Linked DNA regions of Homo sapiens: region 1 is linked to region 2. The links are contacts of gene promoters, found by promoter capture Hi-C in blood cells and fetal thymus (Javierre and others, 2016). All regions are on one chromosome and are shown on one strand. The core of a region is centred on a gene start or on the middle of the fragment in contact, and the rest is flanking DNA. Distances in the headings are between cores, read along the strand shown. Region 1 holds the start of PTDSS1 (phosphatidylserine synthase 1). Region 2 holds the start of SLC25A32 (solute carrier family 25 member 32).

Region 1 (6,608 bases), core at 1,380-3,879, 7.2 Mb before region 2:
TTCTCAGGGCTGAACACTGTTGATTACTTCACAGATAAAGCTGTTCTTCCAAAGGGAATTGAACAAAACCAGTTTTGTCAAGTTTTGTTTCACTGTAGGAAAGGAGAAAAAAGCCTTCAAAAAGAAAAGGTCAAAACTAGTAACAAAACCAAGTGACAGAAATAAATAAGCAACCAGCAATTAATACCTGTATATTTTGACTGAAAAAGTAGTTTTCAAAAATATTTTTATCAGGAAAGGCTAGTGCTATGTTAAACTCCAGGAATATGAAGGGATTTTATATTTAGCCAGCTAATTAGAAAGGTAAATTTGATGCATATAATCTTACGTTAAATAACATTATCCATATAAAACACAGGATGGAGTCAGGATATAAGAAATGCTCAATAAATGTTAGCCATTATTATTGGTTACACAACCAAATACAAAAATTCTGCTGAATTAATTGCTGCCTACAACTTTATACTTTGTTTTTCTGCATACTGGAATTCAGCTTGTTTTATGCTCTAAATTAGACCAAATACTTGAGGGTCTAATCTTTTCTTGGAGATCTGTAGTTTTGGGAAGTTTGCTGAAAGAGATTTTACAAAAGTGAAAGTTTCCTTTCATTCTGCAATTATTTATTATTATTATTATTATTATTTTTTTTGAGACGGAGTTTCGCCCTTGTTGCCCAGGCTGGAGTACAACGGCACCATCTTGGCTCACTGCAACCTCTGCCTCCCAGGTTCAAGTGATTCTCCTGCCTCAGCCTCCCGAGTAGCTGGGATTACCCACGCCCGCTACTATGCCCGGCTAATTTTTTGTGTTTTTAGTAGAGACGGGGTTTCACCATCTTGGCCAGGCTGGCCTCGAACTCCTTACCTCAGGTGATCCACCCAGCTTCCCAAAGTGCTGGGATTACAGGCGTGAGCCACTGCGCTCGGCCCATTCTGCGATGATTTTAGAAAAGAAGTAAGTATTCACAATACCCTGCTGGGATAGGTGGTTTCTGTTAGATTTTGGTGGGAAATGGGACTCCAAATGTGCCAAGTTTTCCCTCAAACCTACAACATTCATTCTCTGCACGGTAGTCATAAGGGCACTAAATTGAAAGTCAGAAGACCTCGGTTGTGCTACCTTGACAAGGCTGTTTCTGGCAGCAGTCTAACAAAAGCAGCAGTCTAGCCCATGATGTGGGGGGTGGGGGTGGGGTCAATAACTATTCTTCAAATAATGCTTTTTTAAAAGGCTAGGGGTACAATAAGATGATTCTTAAGGCCCCTATCAGCTCTAACATTTTTTGACGTCTAAGCACTTCATCCTACTTCAAACTCCTGAAATCCCAAATTCATCCTGAAGCCTTTCCACACTCAATACCACTTAAACATCAGGAAGACTCACTTTCAAATTTCACCCCGTCATTAAAAGATCTTTGTGCATACAACTAATGTTTATCCTTGCATTTTTATTTACAAGTGCACTATCTTCTCCACATCCTTTCATTGCTGCCTACACATCTTAACAATTGATTAACTGTTCATGCACGAGAGCAGAGCTGGGTCTCATCCCTGGATCCATCCTTCCGGGGACTATTCTCCACTTTCCCAGAGCCTTGTACTGCTCTAATGTTTGCGGAATGGAAATAAATCAATGGCAAGTACAGTTAACTCACTTGCTTACACAGTATGCAAAAGCGGGTAGGGGATGTGCAGATGTGTATAAAAGCCCTGTAAGGTGGTAACCTGAAGTCTTCTAACAAGGTCCTTTCATCAGGAAAATTACAGAAAACCCTTAAAGAAACTGAAGTCTCTTAACAATTCATATATACTGTTCTCAATGAGTGCCTAGTGCTTCGCTAGAAAAAGGCACTGAAATAGAGTTCAAGATTTCTACCTACGAAATGCTATAAATGAAATCAGGAGAGAAAGGGAGGTTATGGGGGCAGCTTCCTAATAAAGGGTCTCTCAATACTTCCCAGGCCATTTTAGCCCACTTCAGTTCCCCAAACTTGCGCAGGAAGGCAGAGCCCCCTCCTGAGGCTTCTCACACTGCGCTAATTAGCCAGCATGGTTGAGTTTTCACTACATCAGCCAGGGAAAAACACAAAACAAAACCAATCACCCTCTACTGGGCCGCGAAAACCTAAAGGCCCTTGAGGCCCTGGGGCGCGGTCTGGACGCGGGTGCGCCGGAACCTGAACCCTCGCCAGGAGCGCGATCCTCGTGCTGGGGCAGCTCCTGCTTTACCTGTGGCGAGGCCTGCTTCCCGTAGCGGGTGACCCCGGGACCGACCAACTCGCTGGGCCGCACGTCCCGTCCCGCCGCGCCGCACGCCGGCTCCTCAGCCCGCCCTACACAGCGCAGCCGCGCTCCCGGGCCCACGTGGGCCGCGCCCGGAGTGGGCGAGACCATGTGCCGGGTTACGCGGGGAGACAGCGGGCTACGTGCTCTGAAAAGAGCCAGCCAGGGGCCCCGGCTACCCTTCTCCGGCTCGCTATTCCTCTGAAGTCCTGTGGACTTGGAGTCTGAAAATTCCTCGAGTGGTAGAGATGCCTCAGCTAGGATGACAGCGTGGGGACGGCCGGCGGCGTCCCCTGCCCCAGGCCGCGGTGGCGGCGCCGCGACCCCGCCCTCTCGCGCCTGTCCTTCCCTCTGCTCCCAGCCTTTGCTGGGCGCCAGACCCGGCTTTGCCGTCCGGCTATTAGCCTACTGTGGCTAGTCACCCCCGGGGTCCCGGCCTTCTCGGGCTGGGGCCGCCGCCACCGCGGCAGGACGGGGAGGCGGGCCATGGCGTCCTGCGTGGGGAGCCGGACCCTAAGCAAGGATGATGTGAACTACAAAATGCATTTCCGGATGATCAACGAGCAGCAAGTGGAGGACATCACCATTGACTTCTTCTACCGGCCGCATACCATCACCCTGCTCAGCTTCACCATCGTCAGCCTCATGTACTTCGCCTTTACCAGGTGGGGCGGCCCAGCCGAGCGGGGGGCGCGTCCAAGGGCTAGGGAAGAGGCGGGAGGGAGGGTGGCGGGGAGGGGGGCCCGGCATGGCTCTGGGTGAGGAAGTGGGCTGGCTGCTCCACGCACACGCACTGGCAGCCCGCCGCCCACGCGGCCCCTCCGCCCGCCCGGTGTCTCACAGTACGCTAGCCTGCTCCCCTACCCCTCAGTGCCCCTTCTCCATACAGCGCCTCCGGTTACACGGGGAACGCACGCGAGTCACCTAGCACGATCGCCCCCTCACCCACCGCACTCAGCATCGCTCCACACAACATCACGACGCGGGCCCCTCCTCTGCACTGCTCCAGCCTTCGTCCCTACCCAGCACACCGCATGAATCATGTCGTATGCACCACTTTCAGCACACACCGCTACACATACAAAGCACCCCAATCCACAGCGCCTGCAGGCACCATACACAGGCCCAGGACACAACCTAGATCCCTTCCTGTGGAACTCCGGTATTCGGCACTATCCGTAACGCACAAAAAATGCACATGTGTGCTGCATACACGGTCTTTCCTGTGCAGCACTTCCCGTATGCATTGCACACAAGTCATCCAGCATAACACTTCCCCCAGCCTCAAACACTACCATCTGTACCACGGCACAAACTGCCACTCTAAACACACACCTCACAGCGGACCTTTCCTTTCCAGCACAGCCCAATACCCATCATCTGTGTACATGGCTGCACAGACACCAGCCCGCCACACATCACGCGGTGCATACCCTGCTCACTCATTACCTAACATACGTGCTGAAATGTGATCTTGTCCAGCAATTTTAATGGTGCCTGGGGTATAGTAACTGCTGTGTGTTAAATGAAACACATAAACCTCACACAGCATAACACAACTCTCTTATTCCCTGGAAAACATACACACACATTCTAATATATACCGGTTCATAGGAGCTGCCCAGCCCAAATCTTGAACACACCTCATGTTAACTCTGGCACTGCGCCTGTGGCTCCTCATTCCTAACCTAGAGAACTAATTCATCCTTGGTTCATAAGGAGGTACACACCGTGGTTCCTACTTAGAATGATTTATACTTTCTGAATGAACCTCTTTAAAGAAAGGGAAGTCACACCTCTCTCACCATTATGGCTTAAAAGGCCAACTTAGAGTAGAGTAGTTTTTGAGCCACACTTTTGGTTTCAAAACTGGCTGTGTGTCCTTAATTAAGTTGCATAACCTTGCTCTGAGCCTCAGGGGCCACACTCGTAAAATGGGGATGAAATATCTACTTATATAGGGTTATGAAAATTAAATGAATGTGTGTGAATGCATTTAGCAGAGTCCCTGGAGCACAATGTACAATTCATGTCAGTTACTTCTCTCCCAGTATTTTTATCCAACAATCAAGGTTCTCTGTCAGGGTCAGCAGAACATGTGTAGGGATATATATATTGGGTAGTCACAAGGATTGAGAGAACTTCTAGTATTTGGGAGGGGGAGCAGTTAACGGATACTAAATGTATTGTGACATATGTGACAGCGCTGTACAACATAAAGGGAATTGTCTTCTACACAGTCGTTTGCATACACACACACAAGTGCCGGTGGTGCCTCCCTTAGGAATAACTGCAGTTTTTCAAATCCTCATAAAACTAATATCCTCCCACATCACACTTGTTCCTTACCTCTGGGATTCATTTGACTCTTGGTTCTTGTTATGTAAGTGTTTATCCATTTGAAAGAATCTACCTAAAGGTATAAAGCTTAAGTAACAATTGCTTACTCTTTAATGATTGAGGGATCTTGCCACTATTACTATAAAATCTGCTAAAGCTGTGCAGCAGGTGAAGACCAGACCTTTCCACAGTACCTGACCAGACATATTTCTAGCTTTGGAGAGAAATGAATCATGTCCCTAACTATGGTTACTTTCAAATACTTCATTATGTTGCCTGATTTTATCACTTAATAGCTGTGTGGCCACATAATTTTGCTAGGCCTCAGTTTCCTTATCTGTATGTAAAATGAAAATATCAATACATTAATCTGTCGGGATTATTTGTCATGAGGATTAAATTCATCTTTTTAGATAATCTGTTTAGCTCAGTGCATGGCAAGTATTAAGTGCTTAATAAACATTAGTGGTTATTACGATGTGATTTCATTGAATGCTACTGTCTTCTAATTTATATTTATTATTGAACGAGGATGTAGTATGCTCTGTAATTGAGAAGGATAAAAGCACTGGAAAAATGGACATTAGATAACATACATACCTGTTTGATGTTAACTTCAGTTTAACTTCATCTTAGGTGTGGGCTTGAAATAATGAAATTAGTGAGGGAGTTTCTCTGGAAATTAGAAAAATAATTATGGTATTTTGTTTTAAATAATGAGAAGCAAGAATGAGCCATTTGTTTCAGCCTTTCATTTTTAATATTATTCTAGGTCCTTTCAAAATAGGTTTCTCTTCCTCTTTTCTGATATAAAAAGTCACAATCTTCTGAAATTTCCTTTTACATCATATTCTGTCAAGGCAGTCAATAAATTGCAGCAGTGAAAGTATAAGAAATGAATACGAATTTTAACAGCTTGTCCAAAATAATAGAAGAACCATAATCTGAACTTCAGACTGTAGTCTCATCCAAAAATGTTAACAATTTTATTTCTTCCACTAATTTCATAAAGAGACAGAAATCACATAATGAAGAACTAATTAATAACAAGTTTCACTTTATATAAAATCATAAGCACCATTAATAGAATTCGTACTTACTAAATCTTACTCATTTTTTGTAATGATTTGTGACTTAAGTGGGGCATTACAATGATAGCTCTATATTCCTCCATAAAGACGGAAAGTAACGACTTCTTAAATGAAAATGTATCCTATGTTCTTTTGTAATGATTAACTCCAGTGCCTTATTATTTATTTTATAAGATTTTAGTTGGACAATTGTTCAGTGCAATTCTTTCAGTAAAACTTAAAAGATATGTCTTAAAGTTTGTTTTGCAAAGACTAGTTGTCTAAGAGAACGAGGAGATAGGATTCTTTTGGGATGTCATATAACCAGTATGTGAGAAACAGTACTTGGGTACTGTCACATGCTTCAGAGATCCAGCAAGAATTTAAAATTACAGAGGATTAGATACCTTGCACTGAAGTCTGAGACAAGTTTGGATTTGTCAAGTAGTTCTTTTGTTAGATGGCCCTTAGGTCAATTCCCTGTTAAACCATAGTATTTAAATATCTCCTGTCTTTATCACCATCATTAAAAATAAAGTTAGATACTACCTAATCATTTTCCTATTTGAAAAAGCTCATTTCCAGCCTGGACAACATGGTGTAACCCTATCTCTACAAACAAACAAAACAAAACAAAACAAAACAAAACAAAACAAAAATTAGCTGGGCGTGGTGGCATGCACCTGGAGGCTGAAGTAAGACGATCACCTGAGCCTAGGAGGCAGAGGTTGCAGTGAGCTGAATCACGCCACCATACTCCAGCCTCCACCCTACTCACTCGACAGAATGAGACCCTGTCTCAAAAGAAAACCAAAAACTTATTTTCCCACATTTTAGAATAAGTAGGCTGGGTGCAATGGCTTACGCCGGTAATCCTAGCACTTTGGGAAGCCAAGGTGGGAGGATTGCTTGAGGC
Region 2 (5,947 bases), core at 1,839-4,338:
GTAAGTCACTTGATTGCTCTGTGCCTGAGTTTTTCTGTAAGATAGGAAAAAATAATAGAACCTAACTCTAAAAATTATAAAGGATTAAATCAGTTAGTACATATAAAGCTCTTAGAATTATGCCTGACATATTGCAAGCACTCTGTAAGTACTAGTTTATTTATGCTACTGGGTCTTGCGATACCACATACTTACACAACTTTACTCGGCACTACTGTTACTGAATTTTACGTTTTGGTTCCTTAATATTTTGGATGTAGTCATAGTCTCTACATTCTTCACAAAAGCTCACACACAACTTTAACTTGCAGATTAGGCTTTTGGGTATTTGAGAAAATTACTATTTTTACATCTCATTCTTTGTTGGGGCTCTCTCATCATTCTTGAGGGTTTAAAATTACAGAGTAAAGTTAGAAGGGGCCTGAATAATCATCCAATCCAATCTTTCCACCTAATACAAGAATATCTTCTAACTTCTGTCATCCAACTACTATCTGAACCACTTCTGATCATCATCAATTTCATTTCTGAGCACTGCCACATTGCCAAACCAAAATCTGCTTCCTTGTAATTTCCACTCAACCTGTGTCTGACCTTAGGATCAACCCACAATAAGGCAGCCCCCTTTCCCACATGTAAGTTCTCTAAATATCTTGAGGTTTTTTTCTCTCCCGAGCTAAACTAGTTCCTCCAGTCATTTTTCATATGAAGTAATTTCTAATCTTTCTACCACTCTGGACACCTCTGAGTTCCAATTTATACTTGAACTCACAGAAAAATTCCAGGTTTGGTTTAATAGCACATGCATTCAGAATTAACCCCCACACCCTGTCATCATTAGATTTTAACTTTATTAAATGAGTTTAATTACATGGAAGCATAAAAATTATAGTATGTTACTCAGCACTGATGTTGATAATCAATAAATTTTTATTTCGTTATTCATCTTCTTAAGTTTTCCTCCTATCACCATTTCACAGCTACACTGTGAGCTTTATTATTACAAAGTCCTGCTTCCACTCCTGGATCTTTAATTTAGGCCTCCAATCCAAACTCAATCCTTTTATCTGTCACCTCAGCCCCACTAGTCTCCTAATACTCTTCCCAATTCATCAAGACTATTAATCTTCTCAGGTACCAAGAATTCCCTTTCCTCAGGAATGATATGCTTCAAAGCACTGTCTAAACTCATCAGGCCAACCACACTATTCTTCAATGATCACCTCGACTATCACCTCTTCTGCTCCTAGATAAAATGCTACTGAAGACAGACAGCAAGTCATACAGGCCTGCACCTGCAGGCAAGTCTAAAATTCTTCCAATGTTCAAACCATTGTATAACAGGTACTTATAGAGGTAATACGGTGAGGGGTTAAGTGCCAGAGGGTTCCAGAGTTAGATTACCTGGGTTTAAATCCCAGATCCATCTTTACAAACTTGTGACTTGGGCAAGTTAGTCAACTTCTGTTATCCTCATCTGTATAGCAGATATCATAAACTCACAGGATTGTTCCTGTGAATAGATTTACAGGATAATAAATGAGATAATGCATCTAAAGCATAGTTCACTGCCTTGCTCCTAGTAAATACTCGATAAAGATTACTTGTCAATAACATAATTATTTGTGCATGCATCATAAAACTTCATGACATTATATGTCTTTGTGGTGTTTTTTCTAGAGATAATACTCCATAATTTTCGATGATTTTCCTTCATAGAACGGGTTCTTGCTTCCTCTCCAGCTGTCAAAATATTAGCCCTTCTATGGGAAACCCCAAGCCCCAATCTTCCACTGAACCTTAAAGATACACATGGCCATCAGTAATGTAGAATTTTCTTAACGGTTTACCTGTATTTATATTTTGTTTTTGTATTTCTTGATTTTATGTTGTCTAGAATTACCTTTTATATGACTAAGTCTAACGCCTACAATTAAATTCTAAGTTCCCTGAAGGCAAGAACTTTATTAGATACTTCTGTAGCCCATACAGCAGTCTACAAATATTAAGAGAATATAAATCAAGTGAACTGAATTGCCTAATGCTAAAATAAACAACTTCTGTAGATTTAATTCTCAAGGCTGAACTTAACTTGTAATAACTTTATTTGGAAACTATTTTCTGCAATTTCAGTTATCAAAGATCATCTTTGAAACTCTTTCCAGACTTTAGTGTTGAGTTTAACTTCTAAAATGCTTTGTTAATTTCAACATACTCAATTCATCTAATACACTTAAAATAGTATTTCGATTCTAGCTATTTTTTCACAGAAACTTGTACCATTCTACAAATGCCAAAAAACAAACATTCAAGAGAATTCTATTCTAAATCTACTCCCAACCATTCGCTGAAGATTACGCCCTATCCCAATACTAGTCGAGCTGCCAAACCACGTGGGTATGCTAAGATTTCAAAGTTCCTCCAAGAGTGAATGATTTGCACGTGTGAGGACTAAACCTTAAAATGTGACAATCCCTTCTTTATTTTACAAATCAGGCTTTGAATCCCATCTTCTCTGCCAATGAGGATGTTTTTTCTCAGACTTCTCTACATACATGCCCCCTCTCTTAGTCTTGAGGAGCGGGGAAGATCGCAGGCCGACCCCTCCACCAAGCACCATTTCCTCAAATCTAGTTCAGGTTAGCCAACGCGGACAGCAACGCTCCCTTCAACGCTCCTCCTCCCCCTAGAACGGAAAAGACGGAGGAGATCCAGTTCGGGCTGACAGTGAGAGGATGCAGCCCGGTGTCTGGGCGGGCTCTTACCGGCGAAGCGGATCTTCACGAGGTCGAGCGGATGCAGCGCAAGGTTGGATAAGACGCCGCCGCTCACGCCCGCTATCAGGTTCTCATACCGGACGTGGCGGAATACCGTGCTCCACGCCGACGACCCGGACGCCGACTGGCCCTGGCCCGTCATAGGCTCGGGGCCCGTCGACACCACGGCGCCCAGGGCCGCGGAGGTGGGACGCGATGCAGTGGCCGCCACCGTGGCGACGGTCGCCCCTTGTGAGCGCAACCCCACCTCCGGGACCAACGAGAGGACTCTTATGCCCAAGGCGCGTGAGCGAAGCCGGAGACTCTAGTACTGAGGGGGCAAGAACGGGGCACAGACACTACGTCACGCCGGCGGAAAGCGCGATGGAGGGGAGGTCCCAGCCTCTCCCGAGTCTCCGCCCTGCCTCGCCCACAAATGCTCCAGCCCACGGACGCGGAAGCGACTGCACAGCTAAAGAACCGCCCCTTGCTAACGTTTGCCGGCAAAACTACGGAGCGGCGCAGGATCCAGTTGAGCCAGCAGGCCGCCGCTCCGCGAGTCACGTGACTGGAAGTAGTCTGGGAAAAGCGGAAGTCGCCTGTGGGAGGAGGTGGCGGTGGGCGGAACTCCTAGCGGACACCTCGTGGAGTCCGGCCGGAAGAGCAACCGAGATGAAGGTGAAGATGCTGAGCCGGAATCCGGACAATTATGTCCGCGAAACCAAGTTGGACTTACAGAGAGGTAAGATAAGTTGGTAGGGAGAAAGGGACGGTTTCCGCAAGTCGTTGGGTCTAGCCTCGGCTTTCGCGGAGTAAAGCCGGGGGAGGCTGGCACTCTGGTCTGGTTCTTTCTCAGTTACCTTTCGCTAAGGCAAACTTTGTGCTTACGGAGTCGCTGCGGAACTGGATGGATAGCAAGTAAAGTCTGTTCAAGTCCTTTTTCTAAGAATTTCCTCTAGTGGTGAGTGGGAAACAGTTGTCTATAGTGGAGAAAAATTCCAGCTGCTGCTCTGGGATTGTCTTCAGGTTCCTATTACTGAAAAGTGGACTTGAATGAGCCAAACTCGTGGGTTGAAGGGCTGAGAGTTAAACAGGCTTTTAAAACCTTCCTACTGCTCTTCTTGCCGCTTTACTACTTCACATTAGTTGTGGATGTTGGAAGAGACAAAGATGAATTTAAAAGCATCAGTTTTCTCTTACCATCCCTTAAGAAGTTTGATGAAAGAATGGTTAAATGAAATTAATTTATCCTTCCTGGTCTGTTCCCCCGTTAACATGCTAACCACTTATAAATTGTACTTTGTGATACCTAAATGACAAGGGACCAACCATGCGTAAGCAGATTGTTCTAAATAAAGAGAATAACAGGAGCAAAGGTCTTCAGGCAGGAATGAACCTAAGGCATAGAAAGAAGGGCTGTGTCATTAGTTTGAATGAGGAGTAAGCGAGATGAGATGAGGCGAAAACAGTATTTCACTATTTTGGTTGAGTAGGAGATATTATCAACATGTGTGTGAGCATTGCTAATAAGTCTCTGCTCAAAAGATGTTTACAGTTTGTCACAAGGCAGTAATGTTTCTAAAATATAAATTAGATTTGTCACTTGGATTTGGCATCGTTCCCAGTCCTTGAATCTCTGGTCCCACCTTCCTTGCCACTTTAGTCAGTCACTACGTTTCCCACAAGTGGTTTAGTATTCACCCTTGCAAATCTCAGTGCGTTTCAGTCATCTTTTTTAAGGCCTCCTGTGGCACACACCCTTACCCAGTTTAGCCGCTTTCTCTGGAAGACTTTCACCGAACAGTAATCTGTTCCTGCTTACCTCCTGCATGAGCCCCGCCCCCTTCAGCACCCGTCTTCTGTGATTCTATCACTTCTTCACAGTGTTTATCACATTGTCTCATGATTATTATTTTGGTTAATAGTCTTTCCCATCAGACTTAGCCTCCAAAAAGGGGAAGAATCATGTTCGTGTATGCACTGTTAAGACAGCACCTAGCACATAGTTGCTTTAATAAATGTCAGTTTCTCCATCTATAAAGATTCATTTTTGCCTACATGAAGAGATTTAGAAACAAAATGATCTATCTTGTTGGGGTTTTTAAACTTCTGTTGAAATTATTAAAATGCTAATTTTAGTTGTAGGAACAGCTGCTGACATCAGAGTAGATAGAAATTTTCTAGACTTCAAAAATAATCTTTGCAAAACTGATGGATGAGACTGAAAATTAAATATATTAAATAAACGTGGCCAATTATGGACATTATCATTTTGGGTATGCTTTCTTTGTGAAGTACAGGCATTCTGCACTTTGCACAGTACCATATTAACTGAACCAGTCCCACTCTTTAAGAGGTTTACAGTGATTGAAATCACATCTGTTAACCACGAAACTTTGCAAAGTGGGGAATTGATTCCAGTATGCAACCCGTCCCGTTAATACAGTACAGTGCGAAAGTGAGTACTGCTTGAATTTTTTTTATAATAGTAGCCATTAAAACCAAACATTGAATTAAGCTGAAATTAGAACCTTTAAATCTATCACAGTGTTGAATCAAGATTTTTCTTAAAAAAAAAGATCTTTGGCTGGGCGTGGTGGCTTATGCCTGTAATCCCAGCACTTTGGGAGGCCGAGACGGGCGGATCACGAGGTCAGGAGATTGAGACCATCCTGGCTAACACAGTGAAATCCCGTCTCTACTAAAAATACAAAAAAATTAGCCCAGCGTGGTGCTGGGTGCCTGTAGTCACAGCTACTCAGGAGGCTGAGGCGGGAGAATGGTGTGAACCCAGGAGGCAGAGCTTGCAGTGAGCCGAGATTGCGTCACTGCACTCCAGCCTGGGTGACAGAGGGAGACTCCGTCTCAAAAAAAAAAAAAAAAAAAGAACATCTTTAATTACATGCTCTCATTAACATACACATATGTTGAGAAGGGATCTGCTCAAAAACTCTGTTATTAATGGGGCACACAGAAAGTTTGAAGACTACTATATAGGGAGCCTTTGGAAGTTTTAAGCATGGGAGTGACATGTAAAAAGCTGTTTTAAGATGACATCTGATAGGCTGGGCGCAGTGGCTCACGCCTGTAATCCCAGCACTTTGGGAGGCCGAGGCGGGAAGATCACGAGGTCAGGAGATCGAGACTATCCTGGCTAACATGGTGAAACCCCATCTCTACTAAAAATACAA

Evidence for each region. The method cuts DNA at HindIII sites, captures the fragments that hold promoters and counts their contacts. A CHiCAGO score of 5 or more calls a contact.
Region 1: the fragment with the promoter of PTDSS1 here is called in contact with the fragment with the promoter of SLC25A32 in region 2 in 1 of 17 cell types (non-activated CD4 T cells); the score reaches 7.2 in non-activated CD4 T cells.

Annotation. Positions count from the first base shown.
Region 1 is chr8:96,259,273-96,265,880 of GRCh38, forward strand. It overlaps PTDSS1 (phosphatidylserine synthase 1), which reads left to right and starts at 2,630. Exons shown (of 13, transcript NM_014754.3): 1 at 2,630-2,947. The coding sequence starts at 2,769. MTERF3 (mitochondrial transcription termination factor 3) reads right to left here and starts at 2,338. Exons shown (of 8, transcript NM_015942.5): 1 at 2,229-2,338. LOC105375652 (a long non-coding RNA gene) reads right to left here. Exons shown (of 3, transcript XR_928431.3): 3 at 5,534-5,620. RefSeq lists enhancers at 1,091-1,784, 1,936-1,995, 2,478-3,170, 3,316-3,555 and silencers at 2,159-2,483, 2,236-2,385, 2,566-2,935, 2,986-3,165. The HindIII fragment of the contact is 8,922 bases long and covers 1-4,707 here.
Region 2 is chr8:103,412,019-103,417,965 of GRCh38, forward strand. SLC25A32 (solute carrier family 25 member 32) reads right to left here and starts at 3,089. Exons shown (of 7, transcript NM_030780.5): 1 at 2,766-3,089. The coding sequence starts at 2,919. It overlaps DCAF13 (DDB1 and CUL4 associated factor 13), which reads left to right and starts at 3,368. Exons shown (of 11, transcript NM_015420.7): 1 at 3,368-3,498. The coding sequence starts at 3,429. RefSeq lists enhancers at 2,755-3,376, 3,110-3,449. The HindIII fragment of the contact is 9,226 bases long and covers 1-5,947 here.